Linked DNA regions of Homo sapiens: all the other regions are linked to region 1. Evidence: promoter capture Hi-C in 16 types of primary human blood cells and fetal thymus (Javierre and others, 2016). All regions are on one chromosome and are shown on one strand. The core of a region is centred on a gene start or on the middle of the fragment in contact, and the rest is flanking DNA. Distances in the headings are between cores, read along the strand shown.

Region 1 (3,580 bases), core at 166-2,665:
CTATTCTTATTTGCCACACACGTTTAGTCAGGATCTCAAGGATTCATCAGTAGCAGCAGAAACTTTAATGTAGGGTTAATATATTTGAGAGGTCATTCTTAAGAAAAGTCTAGGCAATAGGCCCTCAGGTAGTGAATTATTCTGTAGGATTCATTGTTTTTTGTTTCATTTTGTTTTGTTTTGTTCTTTTTTCATTTTTCTATTTTTCTCCATAGGATTCTTGATAGGTTTCAATCACACACCTTCCCATGGGTATTTCCATGGGCAACCCACCCCTTCTCTTCAGCAGTAAACTAACAACTACATACCAGTGAACATCACAGGTATAAACCACCTTTCTTCTTTTAAGGAATTAGTATGCAAACTTTAGTACTCTTTTCCTAGTAACAAATAACTGCTGTATCAGATTGTGTCACAAGGCAGCTGCTTTGACTTATTGCTCTGTAGCTGGGGTCAGCCTCTTCAGAACATTGTTAATGAGAGAAAGGAAGTGCTTTGGGCAGTGTCTGGCCCATCAGGCCCTCTGTAAATGTTTGCTATTAATGCAATGCTGAGATCCCAGTGAACAGAATCTGGCTTAGAAGAAGTGGGTATCCACGGTGCCCGAGCCTAATCTTACATCTTGGATTTGTAAGTGGCATTTATTGAGTTGAACATGAGCTTGAGCACGCGGTCACACATTCTTTCAGCAAACACTGGTTAGGCACCAGCTGCTACGTGCAAGCACTGCCCTACATGCTGGGACGCAGCTGTAGTAGGAATGAAATAACGCCAGCATTCCTGCATGCGGGCAGTGCGGGCCCTGTACAGAAAGGTACACGAGATAGGCATCCTCACATCCATTGTCCTGGGAGGAAACTGAGGCTTTGAGAAACGGAGAACTTGCCGGGCCATTTGACTCTACGTCATCCCCTCCCCCATCAATGCCCTGAACAGCCTCCTGTACACCCTTAAGGAACTTACTTTGTAATGATTATTAAGAACTCAGCGAGACCCCGAGCATCACCTCGGCATATCGCATCCTTTCTCTAGAGAACCCCTAATGTTGGAAGGGATCAGAGCGCACCTCCTCCGCTCCTGGGAGCACCCCCTTCCTAATAATACCTTGGGGATGGGTCGGAAGGAAAGGAAAGGAGACGCGAGAGGTGTAGTCGATGTGCCTGCGAAGCCCAGGCTCCTCTGGAGATCCTTCCGTCCGTCCCTACAGGAGAAGGCTGGCCCGGGCTGCTCCACTCCCCGGAGCTGCAGACTGAGTCGCCAGGTTTCTGTGCCTTCAAAGCCCTGCGCGACGGCCACACCAAACACCCAAACCTTGGGCAGGGACCAAACGGTCACTTCCCCGCCCTCCGGGCTCAATATGCAAATCCGAGCACCAGGAAGTAGCTGGGACCTCTCGGCCGAGCCCAGAGACAGCCAGTTCCTCTCCCGCCGCGCCGGGCCGCGCTGCCGCTCGCTCCCCGGCCGTGGCGCCTCCGGGCCAGACGCGCTGCAGCCTCCAGCCCGCGGCAAGCGGGGCGGCCGCGCCACCCCCGGCCCCGCGCCAGCAGCCCCTCGCCGCGCGTCCAGCGTTCCCGGCCAGCAGCCTCCCCATACGCAGGTCCTGCTGGGCCGCCCCGTCGCGCCCCCCACTCTGAACTCAAGTCACCGTGGAGCTCCGCCGCCCCGAAACTTTCACCGCGAGCGGGTGAGTCCTCTGCGCGAGCCCAGGGGTGGGCGCGGGCACGCGGGCAGTGGGTGCAGGGGCCGCGGCTGTGCCACCAGCCGGAGTCCCGGGCGCAGGGTAGACTCGGGGCCGGGGGCATCGGCGCGGCCCGCGGCGGCTTCCTGGCCGCACCGCCTCTGGGCTCCGGCGGCGAAGGCTCTTAGATGTCTTCAGCCGACGGGTGACCGGGCCCGGGGGAGCCAGGGCGCGGGGACTGAGGCTCCGCAGGTGTCCGCCGCGGAGCCGCGCAGGGGAGCGGTGGGAGGTGCGGGCGCGGGGGCGGGCTCACCGCGTGTCCTTCCCGGTGAGGGCCCGAGGGCCGGCTGCTGTCCCTGCTCCGGCCGCTTCTCGCACACAGTGGGGAAGCCGCTGCCCTTGCGGAGCGGGCGCGCGGCGGGGATACTGGAGAGGACTCCTCGGATTGTGCAATCTGATCTCCCCTCTGGACCCTGGGTCTCCTGGCAGTGGGAGATGGGGCTCGGCCGGCGCCCTCTCGAGGCCCGCGGACAGTTGCCCTCCCTGGTGGCCCCGGGCAGGAGCGTGACGTCGAGGGGCTGCAGCGGAGGCTGGAACTCACCCTCCCGCTGCGGCGCCTCTCGGCCTGCCGAGGAGCAGTCCGGTGCTTTTGCCGGCTGAGAGGAAGCGAGAGTTATTTTAAGAATTCAGGGGTTGCCTTTCCTTCGCCTTGGGGGAAGGGCGTAAGAGTCAGTTCCCACTTTCCTGCATTCTCTGGGCCCATGGTGGCATCTTTTGCTTGCGGTGCATTCGTAACTTTCCAACAGCCTGCCTGTCATGTGGATTAGCGGTTGTGTTTTTGTATATCCGAGTGTGTTAATTATCCCAAATTCGCCCTTCTTCGCCAGCTCAGAATCTAGGCCTTGCACTTTTCTGGCTGTATATTTAGGGGACCGATTATTGAAATTCCCTGTTTGAGTTTCTTCATCTTTGAGAGAGCATATATACCTCAGGGGCTGTTTAGTACACACAAAGCCCCTAGTACGTACCAAGCATTTCATAAACGATGTTACTGTTATTTATTGCAGTGAATTCTATTCATATAAATGAGGCTTCTTGGTTCTTTGCAGCTTGGTGATGTTGAAGCTAAGACTACCATGTCAGATTTAGCCATCTGACCTTATTAGTAAATCTGCTTAATAAATACATGAGGGATTTGCTGTCCCAAAGCAGGGCCCAGTAGTCTGACTTTCCCTAAAGAACTAGCCAATAAACTGGTGGGCTACAGGGATGTTTTCTCTGTACAGCCAACACCTAAAGCCATGCCCTGGGGAATAGGCACTGCAAGAACCCAGGCCTTACTAAGCCCTTCTCTGTAAGAGTAAGCTTTGTTGGGAAAGGGTGGGATCCAGTTAGTCCCTCCATTCTCATTTGGAGGTAAGCAGGTAAGCGCTTTGAGGCCTGAATAAATTTCACTGGATCATAGAGTCTTTGGTGACTGGGCCTCTTTGGATGTAAATGTGTGGCCCTTTTGCTGAGTGAAGGATAGAGGGCAGCAGATGTAAGGGGAGAGAAAGTAGGAGCCAGGAACCTTGAGTTTTGGCCTCTTCCATCATTTAATATGCTGTGATTTGGGATAAGCCACTTGGGCCATTTATTCAGCCAAGATTTCCTTTATAGCAGCAGCCAGAGTTATATTGATTTGTCTGCAGGTTGATAGTCTGTATTAACCATTACAGTGGAAGCTCCATGAAAACTGCTTCATCTGTCTTGTCCAAAATGATAGCCCCAGTGCCTGGTACATAGTAGGTGCTCAGTTCGAGATTACTTGGAAGAAGGAATGAAGGCCTCCTGTGAGCTTGCCCTATGCAAAACTGAGGACATAGGGAGATGAAGAAATAGAGCTGGTCCCTAAGGTGTTTG
Region 2 (3,567 bases), core at 1,056-3,555, 140 kb before region 1:
GACTGTAGACAGTCTCAAAGAATCTCAAAATAAGCTTCCTTATTACAAAGGGAAAAAAATAACAACTACAGGGAAGGAACCTGGTGAATGCCATCTCAGCCAAGTGATCAAAGTTATTGCCACTAATGACACAAACCAACATATGTGCCACCTGATGTGACGCCCTGGACAGAGCTGCAGCATCATTCATGTTGTATTTCTAAAATAATGCATAGTCTGAATCAACTTGTAATGAAATGTGAGGCAAAAACAAAATGAGGGCTTATCTGCAAAATAAATGGTCCCCCCTCTCCAAAAAGGTCACTATCATTGAAGACAAAGAAGGGCTGAAGAATCATTCCAGATTAAAGGTGACTAAAGAAATAGGAAAACTAAATGCAATGTGTGATCCTTCCTTGGATGAATCAGGAAGAAAGATTGATATAAATTATATTACTGAGACAACTGGTGAAATTTAAATACAGTCTATAGATAATAGTATTATATCAATCAAGATTTTCCTGATTTTTTTTATCATTGTCTTGTGGTTCTGTAAATGGATGATCTCACAGTCCAGGTAACAGTAAGGGGCATGGTATTTGCAATTTACTATCAGATGATCTAGGAGAAAAAGTATAGATACATATGTGGAGACAGCGAGGGCAACAGGAGTGTGAAAAGAATAAAACAAATGTGACATGTTACCTTGGTGAATCTGGGTGAAGAGTGTATGGGAGTACTCTGCACTATAATTGCAACTTTTCTGTAAGCTTCGAATTGTTTCAGAATGAAAGTTTTTAAAAATGAGCAAGAAAAACTTCCCATAAGTGCGCCATGTTTACACTTCTGGAGAGAGGCTCTTCATACTTGCATCAGGTTCTGACTGTGAACACTCCTCAAAAAAGGGTCAAGACACATGAATAGAAGTGATAAGAAGGGAAAGAAAAATTATGAAAAAAAACTGATACACCTTCTTCCCATTACTTATATTTCTTTTGTTTTAATTTTTTTTTTTTTTTTTTTTTTTGAGACAGGGTGTCATTCTGTTGCTGAGGCTGGAGTGCAGTGGCACAATCATGGCTCACTGCAGCCCTGACCTCTCCAGGCTCAACCTTCCACCTCAGCCTCCCAGGTAGCTGTAACTGCAGGTGTGCACTACCATACCCAGCCGATTTTTGTGCGTTTTCTTGTAGAGACAGGATTTCACCCAGGCTGGTCTTGAATTCCTGGGCTCAAGTGACCCAGTTGCCTCAGCCTCCCAAAGTGTTAGGATGACAGGTGTGAGCCACTGAACCCAGCTTAATTTAAAAACAAAAAAATTTTATTTGATAAGAGGTCTTGTTATGTTGTCCAGGTGGTCTCAAACTCCTGGCCTCAAGCAATCCTCCCAAAGTGCTGGGATTATAGGTGTGTGCCATCATGCCCAGCCATATTTCTATATTTAGTCATATTCTCTGACTCTTATAAATGGGAATTAAACTCAAATAGCAAAGATAAAGATCTGAAGCAATGATGTTAGTCTGAATATCAGGGTTTTAAAAAAAGGTTTTAATTAAAGCAGTAAAACTTAAATATTGTAAAAATAATAGCTTTTGCCACATTAGCAATAAATGCTGTTCTTTCTTTAGTCTTTATTAATAGAACCATGGGCTTGCTCTATCACTCAGGCTGTGCAGTGGCACAATTGCGACTCACTGCAGCCTCGAACTCCTGGGCTCAAGCAATTCTCCCGCCTCAGCCTTCCAAGTAGCTGGGACTACAGGTTCATGACACCACTCCTGGCTAACTTCAGTCTTTAAAACTCAATAGTTGACCCAAAACAAATTTCTCATTCATTTTATATCATTTATTCATTCATTCTGAAATATTTCATCAATTTTGAACCAAACACTGCTCACTGGTGGGGGGAGGAAACTGCAAGTAATCATTAATTGACTCTTCTCATTGACCACAAAATTAAAATATATTTATTACACTGGAAAGTGAAGTTTCTTCATTGTGGCTAGATCAAAGAATATGATTATAGGTGAGAAATGTGTAAAGAGTACAACAAAAAAATCAATTTAAAATGACTATTTAGGGTGGGCGCAGTGGCTCACACCTGTAATCCCAGCACTTCGGGAGGCTGAGGTGGGCGGATCACTTGAGGTCAGCAGTTCAAGACCAGCCTGGCCAACATGGTAAAACCCTGTCTCTACTAAAAACACAAAAATTAGCCAGGTGTAGTGGTACACTCATGTAATCCCAGCTACTCAGGAGGCTCCTTCAGAAGACAGAAGGAGCATTGCTTGAACCTGGGAGGCGGAGGTTGCAGTGAGCCAAGATGGTGCCACTGCACTCCAGCCTGGGAAACAGACACAGCGAGACTCCATCTCAGAAAAAAAAAAAAAAAGATTTTTAAAATGTCACATGTAATTTCTCAAGAAAATTAACTGCAACTCAGGTTTATTTTCACATTGTTTAATTTTATGTACATTTCACATATCATAAATACACACAATACAAAAAGCTATACAAAAACCCTACTAATTCAACATTTAAAAAAGGGAGAGGGAGATACTGCATTTGATTTCTGACACTTTTCTGTTTAAATAATACTTAAATTCAGTTTTCAAGAAGACAACAAATTGAAAATCATTAATTTTTCAGAGGGCTTTGTGTTCACATAAATTCATCATTCAGGCTGGGCATGGTGGCTCACACCTGTAATCCCAGCAAGTTGGGAGGCTGAGGCAGGTGGATCACCTGAGGTCAGGAGTTCAAGACCAGCCTGGCCAACATGGCAAAACCCCATCTCTAAATAAAAACAAAACAAAACATAAATAAATTCATCATTCAAGTATATTTTTATTGAAGCAATAAACCACTTCACTGGCTGTAGAGTCAAACTGGGTAAGCCTCAATATTGAGCAAAAGTAGAGAACTCTTGCTTTCCTCAGCCTAGAATCAGCTTCTAACACACGAAATGCAGAGCACAACAGTGATTTTTAAGCTGGCATTATTAAGACCACAGTATAGGGCTGACAATGCACAGCACACCCTATATTGTTTGCCTATAGACTCTTGTTAAAAATATCATACTAAAAATAATAATTAGAAATTTTATTTTTCCTAATTTTTTATTCAATTTAAAAAATAATACATCTTTTTCATTGTGCTTGGCAACTGGACATGACATAATTTAAACACACAATGGAGAAAATATATACATAACTGCTAAAGGATTTTGACATTGTTTAAATTAATTATTTTATTATTTTGGTTCAACAGTTATCAATCACAGTAAATATAAATAACAAAATAATATCATTCATCATACGATCATGTTTTTAAAAAGTGAATTGTTGAGGCACAAAAACATTACGTGACTTGCCCAAGGTCATGAAGGGAATGAGGGGCAGACAACAGCATGTTTTTTCTAACTTAAACAACTATACTAACCCCTAGCTTATACCATCTTTCAAAATCAGCTCAGGGCGACAGATACAGAAATTTAACGCATTATCCAGGAATGTTTGTTTAACCTAAACTGCTGTTATTAATAAACTTAAGAATCTATATGTTTAGCATAAATTGTTAGGAATTTAC
Region 3 (3,094 bases), core at 583-3,082, 210 kb after region 1:
GGGAATGGGGGGATAATAGAAAGATTTAAATGTCACCACAAAGAAGCTGATACAGTTTGGATGTTTTGTCCCCTCCAAATCTCATGTTGAAATGTGACCCCCAATGTTGCAGGTGGGCATAGTGGGAGGTATTTGGGTCATGGGGGTGGATCCCTCACAAATAGCTTGGTGCCATCCTCATGGTAATGAGTGAGTTCTTTCAGTTCATGTGAGATCTGGTTATTTAAAAGGGGCTGGCAGCCGGGCACGGTGACTCATGCCTGTAATCCCAGCACTTTGGGAGGCCAAGTTGGGCGGATCACCTGAGGTCAGGAGTTCAAGACCAGCCTGGCCAACATATTGAAACCCCCTTCTCTACTAAAAATACAAAACTTAGCTGGGCATGGTGGTGTGTGCCTGTAGTCCCAGCTACTTGGGAGGCTGAAGCAGGAGAATTGCTTGAACCCAGGGAGGTGCGGTTGCAGTGAGCTGAGATCAGGCCACTGCACTCCAGCCTGGACTACAGAGCGAGATTCTATCTCAAAAAAAAAAGAAGTTGGTACCCCCTTCCTGGCTCGTGCTCCTTCTCTCACCATGGGATGCCAGTTTCCCTTTGCCTTCAGTCATGAGTGGAAGCTTCCTAAGCCCTCCCTGGAAGCAGATGTGGGAGCTATACTTCCTGTACAGCCTGCAGACATGTGAGCCAAATAAACCTCTTTTCTTTATGAATTACCTATTCTCAGGTGTTCCTTTATAGCAATGCAAAGGGACTATCCCAGAAGCCAATAGGCAAACCCAATATGTGGGACATTTAATAGAAAATAAACCTGGTTTGGTCAGGTGTGGTAGCTCACACTTGTAATCCCAGCACTTTGGGAGGCTGAGGTGGGTGGATCACTTGAGGTCAGGAGTTCGAGACCAGCCTGACCAACATGGCAAAACCCTGTCTCTACTACAAATGCATTAGCTGGGAGTGGTGGCTCGTGCCTGTAGTCCCAGCTACTCGGAAGGCTGAGGCAGGAGAATCGCTTGAACCTGAGAGGCAGAGGTTGCAGTGAACTGAGATCATGCCACTGTACTCCAGCCTGGGCGACAGAGCAAGATTCCATCACCAAAAAAAAAAAAAAAAAAAAAGAAAGAAAGAAAAGAAAATGAACCTAGTTTCTGCAAACAAGCAAACAAACATTTGGGTGGGGGGAGGAATCTAGATTAAAAGAACACCTAAAAGAAATGTGTGCATCTTATTTAGATGTTGATATAAACAAAACAACCATAGAACATATTTTGAGGCAATTAGGGAAATTTGATTATTGATAAATCATTTGATATTAGTGAGAAATTGTTAATTAAGAGTGATAATGACATTATGGTTATGTAAGAAAGTGTCCATATTTTAGAGATGCTAATAGAAGGATGAAGAAATAAAATGATGTGACTTTTGTGTTTGCTTAAGTTACTTTGGTAAAGAAAGAAATAATAAAAAAACTAAATGAAGCATATTTGTTGAAGATCATTTGACCATATACACAAGAGTTTATTTCTGGGCTCTATTTTATTCCATTGGTCTATTTGTCTGTTTTCATGCCAGCACTACACTGTTTTGATTACTATGGCTTTGTAATATGTTTTGAAATCAGGAAGTGTGAGTCATTTAACTTTGTTCTTTCTTTTCAAAATTGTTTTGGCTATTAAAGATCTTTTAATATTCCATATGAATTTTAGGGTAATTTTATTTCTGCAAAGAAAGACATTTAGATTCTGAAATAGGATTCCACTGAATCTGTAGGTTGCTTTGGCTAGTATGGACATTTTTATAATATTAAGTCTTCCAGCTGGGCACAGTGGCTCATCTCTGTAATCCCAACATTTCGGGAAGCTGAGGTGGCCAGATCACCTGAGATCAGGAGTTCGAGACCAGCCTGGCCAACATGGTGAAACCCTGTCTTTACTAAAAATACAAACATTAACCATGCGTGGGGGTGGGCGCCTGCAATGCCAGCTACTTGGGAGGCTGAGGCAGGAGAATTGCTTGAACGGGGTGGGGGCAGAGGTTGCAGTGAGCCAAGATAGCGCCATTGCACTACAGCCTGGGTGACAAGAGCGAGACTCCATCTTCCAATTCATAAACACAGGATGAGGCCGGGTGCGGTGGTTCACGCCTGTAATCCCAGCACTTTGGGAGGCCGAGGTGGGTGGATCACGAGGTCAGGAGATCGAGACCATCCTGGTTAACACAGTGAAACCCCATCTCTACTAAAAATTACAAAAAATTAGCTGGGCATGGTGGCAGGCGCCTGTAGTCCCAGCTATTCTGGAGGCTGAGGCAGGAGAACGGCGTGAACCTGGGAGGTGGAGCTTGCAGTGAGCCAAGATCGTGCCACTGCACTCCAGCCTGGGCAACAGAGCAAGACTCCATCTAAAAAAAAAAAAAAATTTTAAACACAGGATGTCCTTCCATTTATTTGTGTCTTCTTTCAGCAATGTTTTATGGCAATGTAAAAGCCTTTTACCTCCTTGATTAGGTTTATTCCTAAGTATTTTGTTCTTTTGATACTATTGTAAATGGAATTGTTTTCTTAATTTCTTTTCAGATTGTTTATATTATAAAGAATTTCTAGAAATTGGAAAACAAGAAAAGTTTTTTTTTAAATAAATAAATCCACAGCCCTCCAGACAACTAACCCCAGACAAACGAAACTTTAATTTCGGTCTTTTCTCTGTGTGTTTTAAGAAAAATTTCTTGATTTTAAAAAGCACTTATAATCAAACAATGTGTAATTTTGTACTCTGCCCCATTCATTGAACACTATAGTACAGCCATTTCTGTTATCACAATCTTCATATCCTTTTGAATCAACTGTTCTATTGCAATTTATTTAACTAGTTTAAAACATTTATCTTTCTTTGAATTTCTTACCAGAATAAATGGCTCTTGGTGATTTTTTTTCAATTAAAATTCTTATTTTATAGTATTTCATAGGATGGAGGTCCAGAAGCAGAATTACTGAATCAGTGAATATAAATATTTTTGAGGTTCTTGATACACTGCCAAACTGCAGTTATTTTCCAAAAAGCTTTAATAATTTATATTGTCACTAGGAGTGGCGAGATCTTC
Region 4 (3,494 bases), core at 506-3,005, 180 kb after region 1:
CCTGGGCAACAGAGCGAGACTCCATCTCAAAAAAAAAAAAAAAAAAAAAAAAAGAAAGAAAGAAAGGAAATGCATCCCCAAGAAAGGTTTGAGAAGTCGCCCACCATCTATGTCAGGCTTCTTGTGAAGATCTCCTATATGAAGCCAGTCCATATGGACTGGAAGAGACAATCCCAACAAGATGTCACAAGACATACAAAAGAGGGAAACATGGCTCATACGGTTCGGATGTTTGTCCCCTCCAAATCTCATGTTGAAATGTGATTACCAATGTTGGAGGTGGGGCCTGATAGGAGGTGACTGAATCATGGCAGTGGATCCCTCATGGATGGTTTAGCACTATCCCCTTGGTTATAAGTGATTTCTCACTCTGAATTCACACAACATCTAGTTGTTTAAAAGTATGTGGCTCCTCTCCCCTTGTTCTCTTGCTCCCACTTTTGCCATGTGATGTGGCTGCTCCCACTTTGCCTTCCGCCATGATTAAGTTTCCTGAGGCCCTCACCAGAAGCAGATGCTGGAGCCATGCTGGTATAGCCTGCAGAACCATGAGCCAATTAAACTTCTTTGCTTTATAAATTACCCATCCCCAGGTGTTTCTTTACAGCAACACAGAAACAGACCAACACAATGGCCCAATCAAATGAACAAAATAAATCTTCAGCAACCAACTCTAAAGAAGTAGAGAACTATGAATTAACTGATAAACAATTAAAAATAATCATTATAGAGAAGCTCAATTAGCTAAAAGAGAACACAAATAGACAACTAAACAAAGTCAGAAAGACAATGCATGAATAAAATGAGAATATCAATAAAGAAATTAAAACTATTAAAAAGAAAAACACACATTCTGGAGTGGAAAAATAGCTGAACTGAAAAATTCACCAGAGGACAAATATGTAACAAAGTAGAGTTTTCGTAAGTGATTAAAGTTAAGTTGTATCAGTTTAAAATAGATTATTATAACTTTAAGATGTTTTATATAATCCCCATAGTAACTACAAAAAAAATACTTATAGAAGATACACACAAGGAAAAGAGGAGGGAATCAAAGCATGTCACTACAAAAATTAATGAGGCCGGGCAAGATGGCTCACACCTATAATCCCAGCACTTTGGGGGACCAAGGTGGGCAGATCACCTGAGGTCAGGAGGTGGAGACCAGCCCAGCTAACATGGTGAAACCCCATCTCTACTAAAAACAAAAAATTACCTGGGCATGGTGGCGCATGCCTGTAATCCCAGCTACTCTGGAGGCTGAGGCAGGAGAATCACTTGAAGCCAGGAGGCGGAGGTTGCAGTGAGCCGAGATCGCGCCATTGCACTCCAGCTTGGGCAACAAGAGCGAAACTCCATCTCAAAAATAAATAAATAAATAAAAATAAACTAATGAAACATAAAGGAAGGCAGTACAAGAGGAAGAGAGAAAAAATAGTTACAAGATACACAGAAAACAACAAAATGGCAATAGTAAGTCATTCATTATCAGTAATTAATTTAAATATAAATGAATTAAACTCCCCAATCAAAAGACACAGATTGGTTGAATGAATTAAAAAAAAAAAAACAAGATCCAACTGTATGCTTTCTATAAGAGATTCACTTTAGATCTAGGATGCACATAGGCTGAAAGTGAAAAAATGGAAAAAGTTATTCCATGCAAATGGTAACCAAAAGAGAGCAGAGGTGGCCATTCTACTGTCAGACGAAGTAGACTAAGTCAACCAGACAGAAGATCAATAAGGAAACAAGACTTGAACATTATAGACCAATTAGACCTGATAGACATATAGAGAACACGCCATCCAACAACAGCAGAATACACATTCTTCTCAAGTGCAGAGATCATTCTCCAGAATAAATCACAGGTTAGGCCACAGAACAAGTCTTAACAAATTTAAGAAGACTGAAATCATACAAAGTAATCGTTTCCAACCACGATAGAATGAAACTAGAAATCAGTAGCAGAAGGAAAACGGAAAATCCACACACATGTGGCAATTAAAGAGCAAACTATTAAACAACCAATGAGTCAAAGAAGAAACCACAAGAGGCCGGGCACAGTGGCTCACGCCTGTAATCCCAGGACTTTGGGAGGCCGAGGCCTGTGGATGACCTGAAATCAGGAGTTCGAGACCAGCCTTGCCAACATGGTGAAACCCCATTTCTAAGCCAGGCACGGTGGCTCACGCCTGTGATCCCAGCACTTTGGAGGCTGAGGCAGGCAGATCACTTGAGGTCAGGAGTTCGAGGCCAGCCCAGCTAACATGGTGAAACCCCGTCTGTATTAAACATACAAAAAATCAGCCGGGTGTGGTGGCAGGAACCTGTAATCCCAGCTACTCGGGAGGCTGAGGCTGGAGAATTGCTTGAACCTGGGAGGCGGAGGTTGTAGTGAGACAAGATTGTGCCACTGCACTCCAGCCTGGGCAACAGAGTGAGACTCTGTCTCAAAAAAAAAAAAAAAAAAAAAAAGAGAGAGAAAGAAAAAGAAAAAAATAAATCACAAGAGAAATTAGAAAATATCTTGAGACAAATGAAAATGAAAATACAATATATCAAAACTTATGGAATGCGGTGAAAGCATTACCAAGAAGGAAGATTATAGCTGTAAATGCTTACATTAAAAAAGAAGAAATAGGCCAGGTGTGATGCCTCATGCCTGTACTCCCAGATCTTTGGGAGGCTGAGGTAGGAGGATTGATTAAAACCAGGAGTTCAAGACTAGCCTGGACAACATAGTGAGAACCCATCTCTACAAAAAATAATAAATAAAAAATAGCTGGACATAGTGGCCCTGTAGTTACAGTTGCTAAGGAGGCTGAGGTAGGAAGATTGCTTGAGCCCAGGAGTTCGAGGTTGCAGTGAACTGTGACCCTTCCACTGCACTCCAGCTGGGGTGACAGAGCCATACTGTATCTCTAAGAAAAAAGAAGAGGAAATAGCTAAAAGAAACAACCTAATTTTATACCTCAAGAAACCCCTAATTTTATACCTCAAGAAACGCTTTTTATTATTATTGTTCTTATTTTTTTATTTTTTTTTGAGACGGAGTCTTGCTCTGTCGCCCAGGCTGGAGTGCAGTGGCGTGATCTCGGCTCACTGCAAGCTCCGCCTCCCGGGTTCAAGCGATTCTCCCGCCTCAGCCTCCTGAGAAGCTGGGACTACAGGCGTCCGCCACCACGCCCGGCTAATTTTTTTGTATTTTTAGTAGAGATGGGGTTTCACCGTGTGTTAGCCAGGATGGTCTCAATTTCCTGACCTCATGATCCGCCCACCTCGGCCTCCCAAAGTGCTGGAATTACAGGCGTGAGCCACTGCGCCCTGCAAGAAACCCTTTTAAACCTCAAGAAAAAGGAGAAAAAATGAAACCCGAAGTTAGCAAAAAAAAGGAGGAAAATAACTAAGATTAGAACAGAGATATAAATGGAATTTAAAAATGAAACTAAGAGTTGGTTTTTTGAAAAGGTCAAAAAATTGGCAAACTCTGA

What was found. Contacts are between HindIII fragments. The CHiCAGO score rates a contact against its expected background, and 5 or more counts as called.
Region 2: a fragment that was not itself captured here is called in contact with the fragment with the promoter of LYN in region 1 in 1 of 17 cell types (neutrophils); the score reaches 6.0 in neutrophils.
Region 3: a contact is called between a fragment that was not itself captured here and the fragment with the promoter of LYN in region 1, in 1 of 17 cell types (neutrophils). The highest score is 7.5, in neutrophils.
Region 4: a fragment that was not itself captured here is called in contact with the fragment with the promoter of LYN in region 1 in 7 of 17 cell types (naive B cells, erythroblasts, total B cells and 4 more); the score reaches 8.6 in naive B cells.

The regions. Positions count from the first base shown.
Region 1 is chr8:55,878,420-55,881,999 of GRCh38, forward strand. It overlaps LYN (LYN proto-oncogene, Src family tyrosine kinase), which reads left to right and starts at 1,416. Exons shown (of 13, transcript NM_002350.4): 1 at 1,416-1,684. RefSeq lists enhancers at 510-599, 1,160-1,219, 3,399-3,508 and silencers at 1,370-1,429, 1,450-1,619, 1,700-1,989, 2,020-2,199. The HindIII fragment of the contact is 13,046 bases long and covers 1-3,041 here.
Region 2 is chr8:55,736,335-55,739,901 of GRCh38, forward strand. It overlaps TMEM68 (transmembrane protein 68), which reads right to left. Exons shown (of 8, transcript NM_001286657.2): 8 at 2,424-3,567. Among named protein-coding and RNA genes, the nearest start is that of TMEM68, 35 kb to the right of the region's middle. The HindIII fragment of the contact is 3,116 bases long and covers 748-3,567 here.
Region 3 is chr8:56,089,362-56,092,455 of GRCh38, forward strand. No RefSeq gene overlaps it. Among named protein-coding and RNA genes, the nearest start is that of CERNA3, 16 kb to the left of the region's middle. The HindIII fragment of the contact is 2,438 bases long and covers 614-3,051 here.
Region 4 is chr8:56,060,765-56,064,258 of GRCh38, forward strand. No RefSeq gene overlaps it. Among named protein-coding and RNA genes, the nearest start is that of SNORD54, 11 kb to the right of the region's middle. The HindIII fragment of the contact is 4,265 bases long and covers 1-3,494 here.